Regions from separate parts of the Homo sapiens genome. Here all the other regions are linked to region 2. Evidence: promoter capture Hi-C in 16 types of primary human blood cells and fetal thymus (Javierre and others, 2016). All regions are on one chromosome and are shown on one strand. The core of a region is centred on a gene start or on the middle of the fragment in contact, and the rest is flanking DNA. Distances in the headings are between cores, read along the strand shown. Region 1 overlaps MS4A6E (membrane spanning 4-domains A6E). Region 2 holds the start of MS4A12 (membrane spanning 4-domains A12). Region 3 holds the start of MS4A4E (membrane spanning 4-domains A4E). Region 4 has its middle 17 kb from the start of MS4A4E. Region 5 overlaps MS4A4A (membrane spanning 4-domains A4A). Region 6 has its middle 16 kb from the start of MS4A6E.

The links. The method cuts DNA at HindIII sites, captures the fragments that hold promoters and counts their contacts. A CHiCAGO score of 5 or more calls a contact.
Region 1: a contact is called between a fragment that was not itself captured here and the fragment with the promoter of MS4A12 in region 2, in 2 of 17 cell types (naive B cells and total B cells). The highest score is 8.6, in naive B cells.
Region 3: a contact is called between the fragment with the promoter of MS4A4E here and the fragment with the promoter of MS4A12 in region 2, in 7 of 17 cell types (monocytes, M2 macrophages, total B cells and 4 more). The highest score is 19.8, in monocytes.
Region 4: a contact is called between a fragment that was not itself captured here and the fragment with the promoter of MS4A12 in region 2, in 5 of 17 cell types (naive B cells, total B cells, M0 macrophages and 2 more). The highest score is 6.5, in naive B cells.
Region 5: a fragment that was not itself captured here is called in contact with the fragment with the promoter of MS4A12 in region 2 in 2 of 17 cell types (total B cells and naive B cells); the score reaches 7.6 in total B cells.
Region 6: a contact is called between a fragment that was not itself captured here and the fragment with the promoter of MS4A12 in region 2, in 1 of 17 cell types (total B cells). The highest score is 6.4, in total B cells.

What each region holds. Positions count from the first base shown.
Region 1 is chr11:60,339,919-60,343,178 of GRCh38, forward strand. MS4A6E (membrane spanning 4-domains A6E) reads left to right here. Exons shown (of 5, transcript NM_139249.4): 4 at 1-46; 5 at 858-1,423. The coding sequence ends at 37. Among named protein-coding and RNA genes, the nearest start is that of MS4A6E, 14 kb to the left of the region's middle. The HindIII fragment of the contact is 2,957 bases long and covers 1-2,855 here.
Region 2 is chr11:60,490,942-60,494,225 of GRCh38, forward strand. MS4A12 (membrane spanning 4-domains A12) reads left to right here and starts at 1,837. Exons shown (of 7, transcript NM_017716.3): 1 at 1,837-1,887. RefSeq lists enhancers at 83-822, 823-1,560. The HindIII fragment of the contact is 5,161 bases long and covers 1-3,284 here.
Region 3 is chr11:60,241,784-60,245,013 of GRCh38, forward strand. MS4A4E (membrane spanning 4-domains A4E) reads right to left here and starts at 1,354. Exons shown (of 9, transcript NM_001393391.1): 1 at 1,175-1,354. The HindIII fragment of the contact is 3,157 bases long and covers 533-3,230 here.
Region 4 is chr11:60,258,448-60,261,944 of GRCh38, forward strand. No RefSeq gene overlaps it. Among named protein-coding and RNA genes, the nearest start is that of MS4A4E, 17 kb to the left of the region's middle. The HindIII fragment of the contact is 7,421 bases long and covers 1-3,497 here.
Region 5 is chr11:60,290,292-60,293,727 of GRCh38, forward strand. MS4A4A (membrane spanning 4-domains A4A) reads left to right here. Exons shown (of 7, transcript NM_148975.3): 2 at 1,934-2,093. Among named protein-coding and RNA genes, the nearest start is that of MS4A4A, 11 kb to the left of the region's middle. The HindIII fragment of the contact is 1,887 bases long and covers 736-2,622 here.
Region 6 is chr11:60,310,132-60,313,204 of GRCh38, forward strand. No RefSeq gene overlaps it. Among named protein-coding and RNA genes, the nearest start is that of MS4A6E, 16 kb to the right of the region's middle. The HindIII fragment of the contact is 8,677 bases long and covers 1-3,073 here.

The sequences.
Region 1 (3,260 bases), core at 127-2,626, 150 kb before region 2:
GCTCACTGCTGTGCTGCAGTGGAAACAGACTGTCTGACTTCCCTGGGTGAGTGTGCTGGCCAGCCTCGCTTAATCTTGCCTAGTGTATCTTATCTCTGCACTGTGTTGAGTATGTCACCAAGAGTGGTAGAAGGAACAATCAGTCAGTCATGAGATACACATGGGAGGTCATTTAAATGGTGATGGAAGACCGAGAAGAAAAGCAGATGGTAATTGAGTAGCTGACAAGCTGAGAGTTCACTGGATATGAAAATAGTTAAAATGAGAAATCAACTGGTTCAATCTTCCCATTTTGTCATTGAAGGGAATGAGACTCTGGGAAGTTAAATGACTGGGCTGGCATTATGATATGAGTCTGTACCTGTGCTGAGGACGCTAGAACCTGGCTTGCCTCCCTTCTAAGCAGAAACAATTTCTGCCACAACCACTAGTCTCTTTAATAGTATTGACTTGGTAAAGGGCCTTTACACATGTGACTGGATCCAGTGAATGTCTTATGCTCTGCTTTTCCTCCTGGTGATTTTAAAATTCTTTTTCCTTTTAAAAGATATATTAAAAATGTATTGTTGAATCAAATTCCAAGGGATACCACCCCTATGGACTTATTGCTTTATTTAACTGAATTTAAAAGCCTTGATTTATCCAGAATTTTATTATAGAGAATAGAAGAATACTAGACTGATAAATTGTAATTATTTGAAGAACCCAGTGATCTGCTCTACTTGTCTTGGATTAGCTAAGAATTCTATGTATACAGTTGGAAAAAATGGCATATCCACATGTATCTTGAACCTGAGTAAAGTCTGAAGACCTAACATACTTTGTTTCTTCTAAAGTGTGCTTTTCCTGCCTCACAGTTACTCATGTCCTCAAAGACGACTCATGATGCTGGATATGAAGAACTATTGACTTCTTGGGAAAAAACGGAGAAATATTAATTGGAAAGTTGATTTTTATGATAATATGGAAAACCTAACCATTATAAAAAAGCAAACTTGAGTTTCCTAAATGTAAGCATTTAAAGTAATGCATATTTGTTTTAAAAAATTATTTCGCTGTCATTTATGATATGTGTTCATTGGGGATCTCTTGGTTTGCCTGATACTGACTTCAGCAAAAGCACAGGGCTGTAAATTACCATTTACTAGACTAGCCAAATAGTCTTAGACATTTCCCAGAAAACTAGGCAGAATGATGATTCAATGGATCACAGTGAGGCAAAGGATACAGCTTTTTCTTATACTCCTCAATTGTGAACAGGAGTTAACTGATTTGCTGTGGTGCGCAGACTCTTTTATCACAGGTGCTACTGATTTATCCCATGTATTTTACTCATTAGTGCATAAAGGCAAACCCCATAATGAAGTCTCCGAGTGTATGAAAGTAGCCGGCTTCAAAATAAAATCTTTGAGTGCATACTTTATTTTAATACTTATTTTGTTATTTTTTCCTTTAAACACAGAATAAATCAACAATGACAGACATAAACCCAAATTTTAACTCAATTTTCTCCTCACCAATATTCAAACAAAACTAACGAGTGAACAAATGCTAACCAGGAATGCTTATCTGTTATGAAGAGACAACCAGTTCATACTTACGTCCTTATTTCAAAATAAAAAAGACGAATTGTTTGAGTATAACAAACATAAGCCTCACCTTGCTCATGCACACACACGCACACACACACACACACGTGTAAAAAAGTATTTCAATTTTATATGACCTCCATTTCTTTGAAAGATTTTGTCATATTTCCTTGCTCTGACCCTCTGTAGCAGGGGTCATACTTCATACTCACTGTCTCAGATATCCTGATACTCAGAGAGTTTCTCTGCTCTTTTTTTCCAGTCTCAAATGGAACTGTCAGTTTCTTTGATTTTAGCTTTATCTTCAAATCTGTTTCATTAGGTCTTCTCCCTGTCCTTTGCACCCCCCACTGACACACACCATTTCTTTTATTTATTTGCCTATTGTGGACATTCAACTTTTATTGATACTTATTGGATACCAGACACTATGCTTTTAATGCCAGGGCTACCAAAGTGAATAAGATACATGATTTGGCTTCAAGATATTTATAGTCAAATAAGGAAAACAGAGATGACAATGAAGTTAGGGATTTCGCTAACTGTTATTTGAGCACAGAATAAAGACACTAACTGTTATTTGAGCACAGAATAAAGAATATCATCTTCTGCCTAAAAGAATGTAGAGGATAAACAAGTGTGTGTGTGTGTGTGTGTGTGTGTGTGTGTGTGAGAGAGAGAGAGAGAGAGAGAGGGGGGGGGAGAGAAAGACAGAAAAGACAGAATGTACTTCCTTTGAAAATCCACCTCCCCACTATTAATCACATGGTGCCACCTTCCGCCACAGGAGAGGACCATTGAAGCATTGTCATTTGTCTGGGGTAATATCAGAGGTTCATTGTCTCATGCCAAGAAAATTGAAGACATGGACACACAAAGAGTGAATTTAAGAGCAGAAGTTTAATGGCTAAAAGAAAGAAGAGTGCTTCCTCATGCAGAGGAAGGGATCCCGAATGGATTTCTGGGTTTGGGGCAAGATGAGGCTGGTTTTATAGATGAGTCTGAGGAGGTCGTGTCTGATTTACATCAGGCATAGTAGATTGGTTGGACCAGATGTGCCATTTACATAGCATGGGAAGTGCTGGCCATCCCACACTAATCTTTTATTATGCAGATGGGGTCTCCACCTGGCCGGCACCATATTGCCTGCTTTTTTGCTGCACACATGGTGACAAAGAAAAGGGAAGAGGGAACCTCCATGCTTAATATATCTAGCTTCCAGGTATCCCTTTTCTATTGGCACAACTGCTGGCATTCACCTTTGCAAGCTTCCAGCTTGCTTATCTATTCTTGCAGCTGGATTTTTCAGGCTTCTTTTGCTAGACAAGAAATGATTTGGGGGCTGCTTTTTAATAAAAAGAAAATCTTACTGAGAACTCCCTTACCCTCACTAGCTACTTAAATAATTTCTTTTTAGCTCCTGTGTTATTTCTCCCCTCAGAAGTAGTAACCCTAACTGCTGTTAGAGGGTGTTGGACAGTGACTCTTTCTGACTACTTCCTGCTGAAAAGGGGCATCTAGTGGGGACAGCAGCTAGGGCTCCTCCTGAGTTCAATCTAACGGTCCTCAGAAGAAAGGCGTGTCCGTGTGTGGTTCTGCCTGCAGCACCATTTAAAGTTTGCTTCTAGGCCAAAAGAGATAAATTTTACAAGAAGGTTTAGAATACAGGGT
Region 2 (3,284 bases), core at 587-3,086:
TCTCCCTCTCTTTCCACGGTTTCCCTCTGATGCCGAGCCGAAGCTGGACTGTACTGCCACCATCTCGGCTCACTGCAACCTCCCTGCCTGATTCTCCTGACTCAGCCTGCCGAGTCGCCACGCCTGACTGGTTTTCGTATTTTTTTGGTGGAGATGGGGTTTCGCTGTGTTGGCCGGTTTGGTCTCCGGCTCCTAACCGCGAGTGATCCACCAGCCTCAGCCTCCCGAGGTGCCGGGATTGTATACGGAGTCTCGTTCACTCAGTGCTCAATGTTGCCCAGGCTGGAGTGCAGTGGCGTGATCTCAGCTAGCTACAACCTCCACCTCCCAGCCGCCTGCCTTGGCCTCCCAAAGTGCCGAGATTACAGCCTCTGCCCGGCCGCCACCCCGTCTGGGAAGTGAGGAGCGTCTCTGCCTGGCCGCCCATTGTCTGGGATTTGAGGAGCCCCTCTGCCTGGCTGCCCAGTCTGGGAAGTGAGGAGCGCCTCTTCCCGGCCACCATCCCGTCCAAGAAGTGAGGAGCGTCTCTGCCCAGCCGCCCATCGTCTGAGATGTGGGGAGCGCCTCTGCCCTGCCACCCCGTCAAGGATGTGAGGAGCGCCTCTGCCCAGTGGCGACCCCGTCTGGGAGGTGAGGAGTGTCTCTGCCCGGCCGCCCAGTCTGAGAAGTGAGGAGCCCCTCCGCCCAGCAGCCGCCCTGTCTGAGAAGTGAGGAGCCCCTCCGCCCAGCAGCCGCCCCGTCTGAGAAGTGAGGAGCGTCTCCGCCTGGCAGCCACCCCGTCCAGGAGGAAGGTGGGGGGCCAGTCCCCGCCCAGCGAGCCGCCCCGTCCGGGAGGGAGGTGGGGGGGTCAGCCCCCGCCCGGCCAGCCGCCCCCTCCGGGAGGGAGGTGGGGGGCGCCTCCGCCCAGCCGCCCCTTCTGGGAAGTGAGGAGCCCCTCTGCCTGGCCATCACCCCGTCTGGGAGGTGTACCCAACAGCTCATTGAGAACGGGCCATGATGACGATGGCGGTTTTGTGGAATAGAAAAGGGGGAAAGGTGGGGAAAAGATAGAGAAATCAGATTGTTGCTGTGTCTGTGTAGAAAGAAGTAGACATGGGAGATTTCATTTTGTTCTGTACTAAGAAAAATTCTTCTGCCTTGGGATGCTGTTGATCTATGACCTTACCCCCAACCCTGTGCTCTCTGAAACATGTGCTGTGTCCACTCAGGGTTCAATGGATTAAGGGCGGTGCAAGATGTGCTTTGTTAAACAGATGCTTGAAGGCAGCATGCTCGTTAAGAGTCATCACCACTCCCTAATCTCAAGTACCCAGGGACAAAAACACTGCGGAAGGCCGCAGGGTCCTCTGCCTAGGAAAGCCAGAGACCTTTGTTCACTTGTTTATCTGCTGACCTTCCCTTCACTATTGTCCTATGACCCTGCCAAATCCCCCTCTGTGAGAAACACCCAAGAATGATCAATAAAAAAAAAAAAGAGACTATAAACATAATTTGAGTGTTTAGAAATTTAAAAATAAAATCCCAGTAAAAAAAATAAATAAATAAAAATAAAAATAAAAAAATGCAGTATGATATTGCAATGATTGAGCATTAGAAAGCTGGAGAAAATAAATACTAAAGTGTTTGGGAGGGTCACAATAGGCTTCCCAGTAAAAATTAGAGGAGGATGTGAAAGCACAGCGTATTCCAAACTTTACAGTTGCATTTACATCTCTTGAGGTGAAAGAGAAATAACCATAAAAGGACTCTGGAACTACATAAAGATACAAGACAAATTGGTTTGGAGAACGGAAATAAAATCTACCTATAAAATCCAGGTAAATATCTGATACTGGCACACAGGTTGGAGCAGAGAAAGAGGAAACATAGAGGTGCCAAAGGAACAAAGTAAGTCCATTGATACGTTCTTGCCTATCTCTCCTCCAAATCAATGGGCACAAACTGTGGCTGGTCTACCTGTGTGGGTTCTGTTCTCTAGATTGGAGGGATGAAGACAAGTTCTTGACTCTATGTTGAGGCCAGTTGAAAAATGAGGGAGAATAAAACCATGAACGAAACAAGAAAGAAACAAAACAGAAGAGGAATGAAAAAGTAAGTTGGTTGCTGTACAAGAGATAAAACGGACTGCAAAAAGAAAAAAAAAGCTAATGCTCGCTGGGTGCGGTGGCTCACACCTGTAAACCCAGCTCTTTGGGAGGCCGAGGCAGGAGAATCACCTGAGGTCAGGAGTTCGAGACCAGCCTGCCTAACATGGTGAAACCCCATCTCCACTAAAAATACAAAAATTAGCTGGGCGTAGTGGCAGGTGCCTGTAATCCCAGCTACTCGGGGGGCTGAGGCAGGAGAATCACGTGAACTCGGGAGGCGGAGGTTGCAGTGAGCCGAGATCGCTCCATTGCACTCCAGCCTGGGTGACAAGAGTGAAACTCCATCTTAAAAAAAAAAAAAAAAAAAGCTAATGCTAAGAAAGGTGAATAATAGGTTCAACTGTATGCCATTCCATGAACATGGGCCCAAAAGGACGAGGCCATGCCCCACTGGGCACTTGATGATTATGTGGCTACCACAGGGACAACATAGAACACAGAAGTAATACTGGAGCCCTTGGCTTTGTAACACATTTTAATTAAGGTACTTCTTTCTGACAAGAAAACAATTAAAATTAAAATAGGTAGGGAAAGAACATTCATTTTCACCAGATCAGCATTTTGTGAAAGGTGATATAAGTGTATACCTGTGGATGTACTGGGTGATTTTGTGAAAATGATTCGGTTTCATGTTTTGCTTTATGCTATAAAGTACTCTTGAAAATAATAATCATCTTCACTCTGTCAAAAGTGAAGTTAGCATGAAAATGAGGTAGAAAGAAACTATAAAGAAGTAAATTTTTCCCATTTTTATTTGAAATAATGTAATCACAGAGCAAATTGCTGAGGTTTTCTCTAATTGCTTTAGTCTTATACTTTTGATCTCATCAGAGCTCCAATATTTTTATGTGTTCCTTGTTCTTAAAAATAATTGCAGTTGTTCTAATTCTTATTTTTAAAAAAAGGACAACTAGGGGTAAATATTTTGTCAACTGTCAAGAGAACAATCCTACTAAGTCAATAGGTGGAATCTATAAAAGGAGTCTATTTATTAGTTTCCCTTCTCATGTATCATTTACAGAATTGTCTTCATTTCAATTGAATAATTAAAGAATCAGAACTGGCTGGCTCTGTCTTTAATTCCTTTTATAAAACCAGAACTTGACCCAGTAAAAATGTATTCTGAGTCCTAATAAC
Region 3 (3,230 bases), core at 104-2,603, 250 kb before region 2:
TCAGGTTGGAGAAGAATCTAAACCTTGGTTTTGCCACATCACCTATATGCATCAGGTTCTTGACAACTACAATGTCTTCCCCGCCCCTCCTCCCCACCCCGGATAAAGAGGTGGGGTAACCTAGACCACCCTTCCCTCTTCTATTGGCCCCAGTCTCCTTGTGGATCAGCAGCACCAGCAGTCTCTTGTTTCCTCATTTTTATGTCACCATCCCCCTTATGGGTCACAACACAAGAGAGCATGAGGAGAGTGGTATACACGGTCATCCCCTTTTTCTTGGCAGAGTTATCAAATAGACTAGAAACCCAAAATGAGGCCTGAATCTGGATGGTTTTTAGGAGGATGATGGGGATGCAGAAATGGTGGCATGGGAAGGGAAAAGGGGGAAAGGCCTGGGCTAGGAACCAAGAATTCTGGGTTTTTTGCTCCTAGCCCTTTTGTTAACTTGTGTGATTCTAGGTACATTATTTCCCTTTTCTGGATTTCATTTACTTCATCTGGGGAAAGATTACAATGACTACGACTACTTACAAGCTTCTTTCTTATCCTAAGAATGCTAAAAGTCTACAAGATGTTTTTCATTTGCAGATTTTATCATGAGCAGCCTCAGTTTACTGCCTGGGTGCCACATGAATAGTGCCAAAGACCACTGGAGAACTACGTCAGGCCACAGCCCATCTAAATGTACAAGGCTGGGGACCCTGCCTGTGCCCTACTCCATGTACACCAAATTCTGCACGTGCTAGATCTTTTCTTAAGTCTTGAATTATAAAAATAACCAGTCAGAGACAAAGAATAAAGACCATGGAAGAAGTGCATTAACAGTAGATGAGGTAATTAATCAAAGTTTAAAATGTTGCTTACAGTGTTTTGGTATCCTGAGAACTTACGGAACAAAAGTAACTAAAACAACTTCATCCAGCCTCCAGTGTCAGCCTTTAGGAGGCTTTTCTAACTCCCATCAACTGTAGCGAAGACTGTTCCTCAACCACCCACAACCCTCACCAAATGCATATTTAAATGTGCACTCAATCCACCCCAACCCTGACTACCAGCTTGGGTCATGGGAAGTGACCTCATTTTTTTTTCTCACTCCACTCCCAGAAATCCTAAACCCAGGAAATGAAACAAACTATCAGTCCGAGAGCCTAGGAAGGCAAGTCCCTGGACCTACCTTTCTTCAGGCCTGCAATGTCTGCTGCAGGTCTGATGAGTGCAGGGCTCTGGGCAAGTTCCTCAAAGTTCTTTGTTCCAGACACAGTCAGCTTCCCCCACTCCACACCTCACTCAGTTTAAATCTGCACTCCTTTTCTAGTAGATGTTTGGAACCTTAAAGGATGTGTTGAGAACTTCTGAGACACACAACTAGTTCCTCTTTTTTATCGGAAGCATTAACTGATTTTGCGTTCCCAATATGGGTGTGGACGTTTATTTTGAAATTTGCTGAAAAAGCAGTGGCTGCCTGATACAGTCTTTCCTATGAAAATAATAGTGCTAATTACTGTGGGTATCAGTGGTGGAGGATTTTCTGTTTGCCAGACTCTGCTCAAAGATTGTTATATACACAACTAAGTAAATGGTAATTTATAAATGCCCCCTTTCACAATTTCACACATTTCCACAGTACTCTTCTTCCCAGAGAACTACTGTTACTATTGTATTAGGTTGGTGAAAAAGTAATTGTGCCTTAATATACACAACTTAAATATCTTATTTTCATGATATTTCACCTTTGGAGGTTCAACATGAATAGCCACAAAATGGGAACAAGTTGGTTGTACAGCAATAATTAATACAACACCTTTCTAAGTCAAAGAAGCAGCTGGTATCATAGAACAAGCTGGTCTTTGACTAAGACAAACCCAATGGCAATCATTTCTTGTATGACCTTGTTAATCCCCTGAACCTGATTCATTGGTAAAATAAAATAATGCCTTCTTTACATGGAGGAAAGCAAAGTGGCATGCAATTTTCATTCACTCAGCATTTTCTTAGAGAAAAGCTACTATAAGCCAAGCAGTGTGCCATGTGCTTCAGATAAAATGGTGAAAAATGATTTTCGCTCAAGGATTTTATAGGCTACTTGACAATATAGACAAGTAAATAAATCACCCATTATAATCAGTTACCTGCAAGGTAAAGTGGCAATGCTGATGAATAAATAAATCATTACAACCCATTATAATCAGTGATCTGCAAGGTAAAATTGGATATCCTGAGAGAGCTCATAGGAGGATCAAAGAACTCAACGTTGGGTAGGTAGGCAGAGGAGACTTCCTAGATAAAGGGACATCTAATTGGAGACCTGATGAATAAGCAAAAGACACACAAATGGAAGAAGGATGGAGCTAGGTAACATTATTATTCCCATTTTCCAGAAGATGGAACTGAAACTCAGAGATATTCATATAGCTGGTATAGATGAGATTGAAATCCAGTTTTGCCTAATCCCAAAAACTTTGTTGTCTATAATCTGAAATTATTTTAATTCTCAGAATTAAATGGGTTATATTTCAGAAATATTGTCCTGGTTTTCATGTAAAGCAACAATAGGAATAAATAATACTGAAATCAGGGAGTTAGGGTTAAGAAAGAGGCAGTTCTCTAGGGAAGGGATGATGGTTACTGAACTACCTATGATGCTAGTGAAGTTGGAGAGAATGAATGGATTTGAAAGATGTTTAGGAACGAGAAATGACAGTACTTGTTGATATAATGGATGTGTAAATCAGGAGAGAAAACAGGAAAGGATGGCGCTCAGATTCTGGGTTAGGAAACTGAATGAATGATAGAGCCATTCAGTAAGGCAATAGACATGGACCAAGACAGAACTGCAGGAACAAAGAGTAAGACTTGGAGCATATTTAATTTGAATTGTGTGGGCACCTTCAAATAAGGTTCACAAAAGTTGGATAACTGGCAGGAGCTAGGGAATGAGAACATGGCTGTAGAGGTAAACCCAACAGCTCTTCACCCAGAGGGATGAGGTTACCCAGGCTTGTGGGAGGAGGCAGAAAAAATCAGACCCTTTTTGCTAGAGAATAGAAACAGTATTATCAGAAATAAGGGTTTCCAGAGGATGGCAAAAAGAGATTAAAGAAGATAACAGGCAAACTAGGAAAATGTGGCATTACAGAAGACAAAGGTACAGAGTTTCATGACTTTATAAGAGAGGTTGAAATTCTAGACTAAGAACAGATGTCAATCTTACCTCCTCTTCCATATAGTGT
Region 4 (3,497 bases), core at 977-3,476, 230 kb before region 2:
GTGGGGTGGGTGGCCCTTTAGAGGTCCTCCTGAGTGTCCTGTTGGTTGGGGTCCAACTCCATGGTAACAGTCTTTATGGTAAGCCAGTAGATGAGTATATTCAAGAGATCTACATCAGGTATTGTAGGAGTGATACCAGTAGCCAAATAGGTCTACCAATTGCTGGGGTTTTTTTTGTGGTTTTTGGTGGGGAGGGACAGAGAAGTTCAAAATCTTGACAATCATCTTTGCAATGAGAGGCTTTTCTGCTTTCTGAATTATGCCCAGGAGTTTTATTAGTTTCATTTGGATATTATTAGGTCTTTTTATCTTGTCTGTGTTAATGGCCCAGCTGGGTTGCTGCATGTGGATCAACAGGGTGTCTAGTCCTTGTTGGGCAGTCCCTTCATCTGAGCCCACCAGGAAGAGACAATCAATATAGCAGAAGGGCAGAGCTTTCTCCAGGAGTGAGACTGTGTGTAACTCATGGCCCATCACTCCATGGCAGATACCTGGGAGCTTAGGTGGCCTTGCCTGTGCATGTGCTCTGCTGTATTGGTGGTGGCTGTTCTCAGGGCACTGCAAGGGACAGTGTCTGGAGTGACATGGCTGCATGGTGCCCCTCTCCCTCACTAAGTTCTACAAGATTGCCTTCTTTATCATGCTTACCTCTGAAGTCTGCAGTGAAATATTATTAAACCACCCACGCATTCGCAGTATAATTACAACTTGGTAATGATATATGTTACACTGTGGGATTATATTTCCTTGTGTTTTAAATATGATTTTTCAGAGACTGAAAAATATCTGAAAACTTCTCCATCTCTTAGTGTGCTGGTTGGGTTTAGATCAAGATCTTTTAAAATGAATTTGTGAGCATTCCCTTTTTAAAAAAAAATCTTCTGAATATTTTGAATAAAATTTCCATTGTCTATTATTTTTAGTATCATATAACTCACTTCTCAGGGCATGGTGTTTTATTTATTTAATTATTTATTCAATTTGCATATGTATATTTTAAATTACTTCTAATTTTCAGGGTATTAATATTTATTTTAAATAGTAAGTATAGTGTATTCATTTTTATTTAGATTACTAATATATCAGATTTTAAATGTATAACATCTTATATTTTCCTTTCTATTCACCATTATTTAATTGTTCTTATTTTTCCAATTTCTTTTTTTCTATTAGACTGCCAAAATTTTGTTTAATTTCCTTCTTATTATTTGATGGAAGACCCAAGAATTGCCCTATGGATTAAACAATCACAGACAATCACCATGTAGGCCCTCAAAGTTGTACCATATTTAAGTTGGCTTCGCATTTTCTCAGTTCTCATGCTGGATGTGGTTGAAGAGAGAAAAGGCAGTATTCCTGGAAAACAGAACTGGAAGTGGCTGAACTGTCAGGCCAAGAAACACACATTACTATTTAGGCAGAGTTCCCTATTAAGACAGAGCTCCCTTAATATTTTAATGAAGTATTAAGTGCATGGGGCTTTTGGTTTGACATTCACTTGGGAAAGGCTGAATGCACATCAGTTAGCTGTGATCATTGTTGGAAGAATGGATCAGAAGAAAGTGTCCTTGGGCATAGGGCAGACAAAGGAGTGACCTGTAGTATGCACTTGTTGCCTGCCCAGAATCCATCTTCCACTTTCCTCTTCCCAGCAATCTGTGACTTCTGACTGGGGATCCATGTAATTCTGAGGACTGACTCCGTCCCTGCCTCCACTGTGCTCTGGCTCTAGGCCCAGTCAATGTGCTTTTCACACCCCCTTTCCACTGCAATGATTGAATCAGCGTGGACATGTAACCTTACATGGTCTCATCAGAATGATTCTCAATCGTCTTGTTTTGAAACTCTAGACTATTCTAAAAACACTATTCTTCCAAACTACAGGGTGATATATGGATGTAAGGCCTAGACTTGATGTAGACATTTTTGCTAAGCGGTGGGAAATCAGCCTAAGCATGAAGCCAACACACAGAAGAGGGTAGAGCTAATACACTACACAAAGGTACACAAGAGTTGGGGCTGGAGCCTCCATGACATCTAAACATCTAAACCAGTAGCTCCAATCTTATCTGAAGTTCACCTCAACTCTGTAGTCTTCAGAAACATTAGCCTACATTTTTTGTTTTGACTTTCTCTATATGATAAATAATGTACTCCTCCCTCCTCCCATCCTTTGCATTTAGAAACACAAAAAATGATTTGTTTAATGTCACAAAGACCACTATTTCTCCAATTCAGATTGTAATTTAGATAAGTAAACAATCAAAATCCTTTACTCTGAGCCCTGGAAATGAAGGATGAAAATTGAGGAGAGAAAAACAAAGAAACCAGGGCATTCATGGTGTTAGATACAGTTAGGTTCCCACTTCAAACAGCTTATCCAGTTTCCCTGTTCTCTATCCTATAATTCCACATACCCCCTTGCCTTTGCTGCACCCCAACTTGTCTGAACCTAGGCATGCCTGAACTTGCTACAACCCCAGTCCACATTCCTTTCCTTATTAGGGAATAGGTTACCTTCCTAATGTCCCCGTAAATGACCCCTCGTCTCTCTCTTCTCACCTTCCTTACATGTCTACCTTATCTAAGAAAGTTTAAATGTTTAGCCAGTCACGACTAGTTAGACTGTGCTGTCCAACCCTAGCCAATAGAGGAAACACACAGAAGCAGAAGCTGCATTAGAGATAATAAAACCCCTGCTTTCCTTTGTTCTGTGTGCTCTCGCCATTGCTCCATATGCGAGACACACCCTTCTGCAGAAGTAAATTTGCCTTGCTGAGAGACCCTTTGTCCTTTGTTTCAGCGCTAGTTCTTTTTTGTGACACTGAGCATGTGTTTCCAACAATGGGGACAGGAATGGAAAAATGAGTTGGAGAGAGGCAATAAAAATCTTTCTTCTCTTGACTAATATATGAAAAACACTGGCACCACCAAGTAAAAAAGATAAGATCCCCTCCCACCAGGAATTTAGGCTCCTTATGGGTACTCAGACAAACAGTTTTTCTAAGCTGTAGGAAACCGATACTAAATTGACAAATCTTGATGAATACCTCATAGGCTGTGGCATTCAATGCTACTATTTTGGACCTTACGGTGCAAAAGAAATACATTAATACACTGCCTAACATTCATATCAAGTAATTACACTGTCTACTATTGCTACATTGTCTTATTTTGCTCTTGTTCCAAATTCACATAATTTTCCCTGTTGTTATTACTCTCTTTTCATGAATGAAGAGGTTTTTGAAAACAGGTTTGCTACAGCAACAATTCTCTGCTTCACACAGGAGGGACTCCTAAGTGCCAGCCTCTGTATATGTGAACAGGGCTGCCATTTTGTTCTCACCAGTCTAAAGTTATCCTAGGTTCCTATTCCAAATGAGCTACCACTCACAGTTATTTTATTCAGCCAATATTTATTAAGTATCTGGCCCATGCAGACCTATGCAAGAGATCAGTAATACCTGTAGAAGATAATGTCCCTGCCCTTGAACACA
Region 5 (3,436 bases), core at 429-2,928, 200 kb before region 2:
TACTCTGAAATCTGTGGCCATGGTGTCCTGTTTCTTTCATACTCTCACTACACTTCTCCCCAAATTTATCATCATGTAATCTTTGTTTCTAACACTCATTTCACCTGATTTATAGAAATGTTAGTTGTTTCCCACTTTCATAAAAAAAATGGAGTTCTAATTCTGTTTGTCCAAATTGTTTTCGGAACTTTTCTAAAAGTGAAAAGAATAAGAACATTGATTTTTTGGTTACATTCTTATATATAATTCCTTATCTTAACTACTTCATTCACATTTACATTATATATTTCTTATTTATTATATTTGTCTTTCTTTTTTAAAAGAAATACTTATTTTATAATTTGTAATTTTGTACTTTTTATTTTACTATTTTTCATAATTTTAAGTATATACATTACTAAAGTTAAATTAATGTTCTAAATAATTAATCTTTTCATTTTAACGTTTCTCCTCTATCTTTCTCTGAAATTCACCCCCCTTCTTCTGACTTTAATCAGTTTTATTGTTAGATAGCTAATAATTTATTTCCATTGATGTATCAAAAATAAATACAGGATGATAATTTTTTCAGAGAAATCTTAATTTTTTTCTCAACATAGCAAATTTGGAGTACAACAATTTTTTTTTCATTTATGGTACCAATAAAAGGGCACACATCTCAAAACGAGACTTTTATAGGGGCTCAGTGGAGAATAAGTGGTATCAAAATTAACTATTACTTGAAGGATATTAGCAAGCTTCATTTCCCTAAAAATTTATGGAAGTTGATCATGAAACACCTGAATATGAATTCAACTACATAGATAAAAATTTCCATGTGACTTTAGCCTATCTCTACATGACTTGGTTGGAGTTATTATACTGAGGACAGAAAGAGATATAAGAGTAATATGTTTGTGCTTAGATTCTCAAAAAATGATTTGATGGATCCTTGCTATGCACCAGCAAGTTAGGATTTAAAGCAATGTAATAGGACAAGAGATTTAGATTTGTGGTGCCAAGAATATGACTGAGAGCCATAAGTTTCATTCCCAAAGTTCAGAGTTTGTGGCACAAAATACAAGGTTACATAAATCACACTCAGCAAGGAGGAACATGGGAAGATTTTCAGCCCTGTGAATTTAACTGTGCTCTGATTAGAAAAGGAGGAACTATGCAATACTATACAATAAATTGGAAGGCAGATTAGTTTGTGTAGTTTATTACTATTATAAAAGTAATCCTTCAGCTGGGTGCGGTGGCTCACACCTGTAATTCCAGCACTTTGGGAGGCCGAGGCGGGCGGATCACAAGGTCAGGAGATGGAGACCATACTGGCCAACATGGTGAAACTCTGTCTCTACTAAAAATACAAAAATTGGCTCAGCATGGTGGCACGCGCCTGTAGTAACAGCTACTCGGGAGACTGAGGCAGGAGAATCGTTTGAACCCAGGAGGCAGAGGTTGCAGTGTGCCGAGATCGCGCCACTGCATTGCAGCCTGGTGACAGCGTGAGACTCCATCTCAAAAAAAAAAAACAAAAAAACAAAACTAAAAAACAAAGTAATCCTTTGTGGGTAAGTGGCTGTAATCAAGGGATTAGGCAGTAAGAGGGATAGAAATAAAATCTGAGCCGACTTGGAATTGGAACTTAAAGAAATTTCTCTAATTTTAGAGGTCCAACAGGTTTACCTCGCTTCTGTCAACATGTCCCTCTCTGCAGGATTTTCTAGCATCTTGATATCATATGACATTTAGTTTCTCTCCCACCTGCCCCCGCCCCACACACACACTTAATGTGTTGCCTATTCCACTTCCCCAGCTCTAACAGCTATTATGATATGGGAAGAGAATGTAGACCAGATTCTGTCCTTAGGGAGGAACCTGCCCCAAAGTGTCATGTCCTCTTTTGCCATTTCCAGGACATCATACTAAATTACATTTCTTATTGTAGCACCTTTTCTGCTGCCATGACAACCATGCAAGGAATGGAACAGGCCATGCCAGGGGCTGGCCCTGGTGTGCCCCAGCTGGGAAACATGGCTGTCATACATTCACATCTGTGGAAAGGATTGCAAGAGAAGTTCTTGAAGGGAGAACCCAAAGTCCTTGGGGTAAGTTGCAAATCTAGGGGAAGACCAATGGTGTTGCAAACTCATATTTCATAAGACCTAATGCCAAATACACTGTCCCACTAGCCTCATAATACAACAGCCAACCCTCACGACGTCAGTAATTACTTTTCAGGCTCTTCATCTGAAAAACTATATAGTATTCTGTCACAACATGCTTCCAGTTGAGTTATATTTAAAATATATTGAGTTCAGATCTATTCTAGGGTTGTGGGTCATCCATGATAATTGTATTTAAACTCAGTGTGGAAAAGCAGCAAAATAAAAGGCCACCTATGCACTACTAGCTGACGCCCCCTTTACAGGCCTTCCTGATAGCTGACAGGCACATATTGCTACTATTTCTTTCTGGCACCTTTTCTTAGCCCCCTGCTCAGAGGATGAAAAATCTATCCTCTGAGCATTTCCATCTGGAGTCTCAGATGAGCATGCCCAAAAGAAATGAAGGATTAAAAGAATGACAGAATAGGGCAGGTGAAAGGATATTAAATATAGGTTTATCACTAGCCCAAGCTTCAAACCACGGGAAAATGTCACTGTGGATATTCTGGATCCTTTTTTCACATTATTCATTTTCTGGAGGGGGGGAAATATAGTTATTTCTCATAAAATATGTTATTTATGTTGGCACATACTAGGTTTGTTTGTTTATTTATTTTTAATTTTATTTTTTGAGATGGAGTCTCGCTCCATCATCCAGGCTGGAGTGCAGTGGCACAATCTGGGCTCACTGCAACCTCCGTCTTCCGGGTTCAAGAGATTCTCCTGCCTCAGCCTCCTGAGTAGTTGGGATTACAGGCATGAGCCATCACACCTGGCTAATTTTTGTATTTTTAGTAGAGACGGGGTTTCAGCATGTTGGTCAGGCTGGTCTTGAACTCCTGACCTCGTGATCTGCCTGCTTCAGCCTCCCAAAGTGGGTTTATTTTTTAATGTATGAATAATTATTTTAAAATATACTGTATGTTTTAGAGCAGTTTTAGGCTTAAAGAAAAATTGAGAGCAAAGTACAGATCTATCCCATATGCCCCTTGCCCCCACAAATGCATAGCTTTTTAATTATCAACCTCCTCCACCAGCATGTAACCTTTGTACCAATTGATGAACTACATTGACACATCATTACTAAAAGTACACAAATCACAATGGGGTTCATTCTCTGTGTTGTGTGTTCTGTGGGTTTTAACACAAGTATAGTGATATGAATCTACCTTTGTAGTATCACATAGTATCCCACCAATCCCTGGCAACCACAAATCTTTTATTGTCTTCATAGTTTGCCTTTTCCAGAAAGTCATACAGTTGGAATTGTACAATAGGTGTTT
Region 6 (3,073 bases), core at 462-2,961, 180 kb before region 2:
GAGTAGCTGGGACTGTATACAAGCGCCCGCCACCGCGCCCGGCTAATTTTTTATATTTTTAGTAGAGACGGGGTTTCACCGTGTTAGCCAGGATGGTGTCTCGATCTCCTGACCTCGTGATCCGCCCGCCTCGGCCTCCCAAAGTGCTGGGATTACAGGCGTGAGCCCCCGCGCCCGGCCAACTGTTAATATTTTACCATGTCATAAAGAGATATTGGTCTATGTATGTACCTAATTCCAATCTTTTAATTATTGTGTATGTACTGATATCCTACTTGTTTTATTTCTTCAATATTGTATTAATACTTGGCAGATTTTGTACTCGGCATTTATTCCCCATTTGTTCTGATAATGATGGCCTGATTTCCTCCAAAAAATCACCATTATCTAACTCTTAATTTATGTACAAGGGTGGAGCTCACCCAACCCCCAATTTCAGGAGTTGACCTGTGTCCTACATCTGGGAAGTGGCAGAATTACATCAACTCAGCTAGAGTGAAGTTCTTTGGTAGCCTTGTGACCTAGGAAAAAACAATTGTGTGAATGACTGACACATTTCCAATCAAAATTAATCTCATCATTTTCACTTCACTGACCAAGAAATGGTCTCCCCATCTTTCCTCTTTCCTGTTGGGTTTGGAGCTGTGAGGACGTAAGTTTGCTGCCATCAGCAGCCCCGTGACAGACAGATGCTCACAGACAAAAGCAGAACTGAGAAGTTCCAAGTGAACGATCAGACCCTAATGTAATTCTTTTGAGTCTCCAAGTCAAGTTTTACCCGGAGTTGGCCCAACCCCTGGGGTTTTAAATATATAAAGACAAGGAAAGAGATTTATTCAGATAGTGCAATAACTGGGCAAAATCCTTCAACGGCTTCCTCTCTAATTCAGAATAAAAGCCAAAGCTCATATAAATCCTACATAGTCCTTACATCACGTGATTCTTTGTTGTTTCTTGGATTTTTAAAATATCCTGACTTATATCCTGATATATTGCTTTGAGATTGTTTAAAATGGTAAGAGAGTGCCTTCTCTTGGTGATAATTAGTGCATACATAATTTTTTTAACACTTACATAAGCAACCTAAGATTAGTGCATTTTTAGTTGTAAAAAGTTCATGCAAATATTTTGTGCTATTAGTGCAAGATATTATGATTCCAACTTTTAGACAAGACTACCTGCACTTGTTTCATGTCATGTGATTTGAAATTTATTCTTCATTTGGTTATTCTTGGTTTTATCTATATGTGATTAGAAAGCAGTAGGAAAATGTCCATGAGACTTTGTCTCCTTTTGCTACTTTTACAATAAAAATAATTATTGTTTCATAGGTTTTTGTTTTTTTTTTTGAGAGAGGGTCTGGCTCTGTTGCACAGGCTGGAGTGCATTAGAACCTCTGCCTCCTGGACTTAAGCCATCCTCCCACCTCAGCCTCCTAAGTAAATGGGACTACAGGTGTGCACCACCACACCCAGCTACTTTTTCTATTTTTTGTAGAGACAGTGTTTCACCATGTTGCCCAGTTTGATTCCCTGTCTGCTTAATGATTGCAAGAGGCTCCCCTGCTGGGTTGAAGTTGGGCCAAGAATTGCCTTAGTAGTGGTTGATACGGTTGGGATGGTATGGTTAAAGTTGAACTCATCATTGAGGGAAGCATCTTGGGACCGCACTTCGCCTTGTAAATAATTGGAAAAAAAAAGTTATAAGGTCTTGAGTATATAAAGTGATATTATTGATAACTTCTAACTATAAGTAGTCCAAGCTCTTCAGGTAGATGCAAGATATCTGTGACTAAAAATGATTTTTTTAAAAAATTTGAATCCAGTATTTTTGGGTTTTTTTTTTGTCTTAGACTCACTGAGGCAAAATGAAGGCTTCACGCTAAGTTAAATTTGTGTTATCAAATATTTCTGTCCCCTTTCTCCTCTAAAATCTAATTTCTCTTCTCTACCAGTCCTAAATATCAAAGATTATAAGAAAAGTAAGGATAATTAAAGATTAAAGAATATTGAGGCTTGTGTATTTTTTCAGTCAATGATAAAGAAACGGGCGATCAATAATAAGCAACTGGTAAGTGTACTATAATCAGCATTGCTACAAAAACTGCTATCTATTGAGAAAACATGCATCCAACTATTAAAAGTAATTTATATTTATAAAATCAAATTAAACCCACTCGTAAATGTAAGAGAAGTCTCAAAGGGCTCATTGTTATAACAGTTATAATAGGTATTTTTACATTTGAGGTTGTAAAATGATAATACTGTATGCAAAGTTAGAGGCAAATCAACAGTTCTAACAGTGATGTGTTACACTTACATTACTCAGTAAATTGGATTATAGAGCATGGAACAATTTGGGGAAGAATCATCTCGGGTGTTCCCACTGACCATTAGAAATCTGTAGTTTATCTTAAATTAACTATTTTTAAAATTTGCCATTTTCCACAACTCTTACTTTTCCTGATTCTGAGTCCTGATCCCATAAACTTGCAATACTCTATGGAAAGGATTTCAAGAGAGACATACTTTTATCTTTAATAAAAACATGAATTAAACCAGAAGGAAGGAAATAAAGAGTTGAAGCCCACTGCTGTGGCTGCTGAAGTAATAGATGCATTTTATCTTAATACTTGACTAGAAATTTCCTGTATCTTCATTTTGTATCTTATTATGAATCTTCATCATTAAAATGTATGATAGCTTTATGGTAGGTCTTGAAATCAGGTAGCATATGTCTCATATTATTTTTCTTCATTAACAAAATTGATTTAGTCAAAGTCTTTAATTATTTCATGTACATTTTGGAATTACTTCGTCAACTTTATGCAATCCAAAAAGACCTTCTTGGATTTTGATTAAGAAGGTATTGAGTCTATAGGTCTATAAGGGAAAATTGCCAACTTAACAATATTGAGTTTTCTAATCCATTAACAGAATATACCTTTTCCTTTATTTATTTATTATTTTTATTTATTTATATTTTTTTGAGATGGAGTCTCGCTCTGTCACCCAGGCTGTAGCGCAATGGTGTAATCTTGGCTTACTACAACCCCTACACCTCCTGGGTTCAA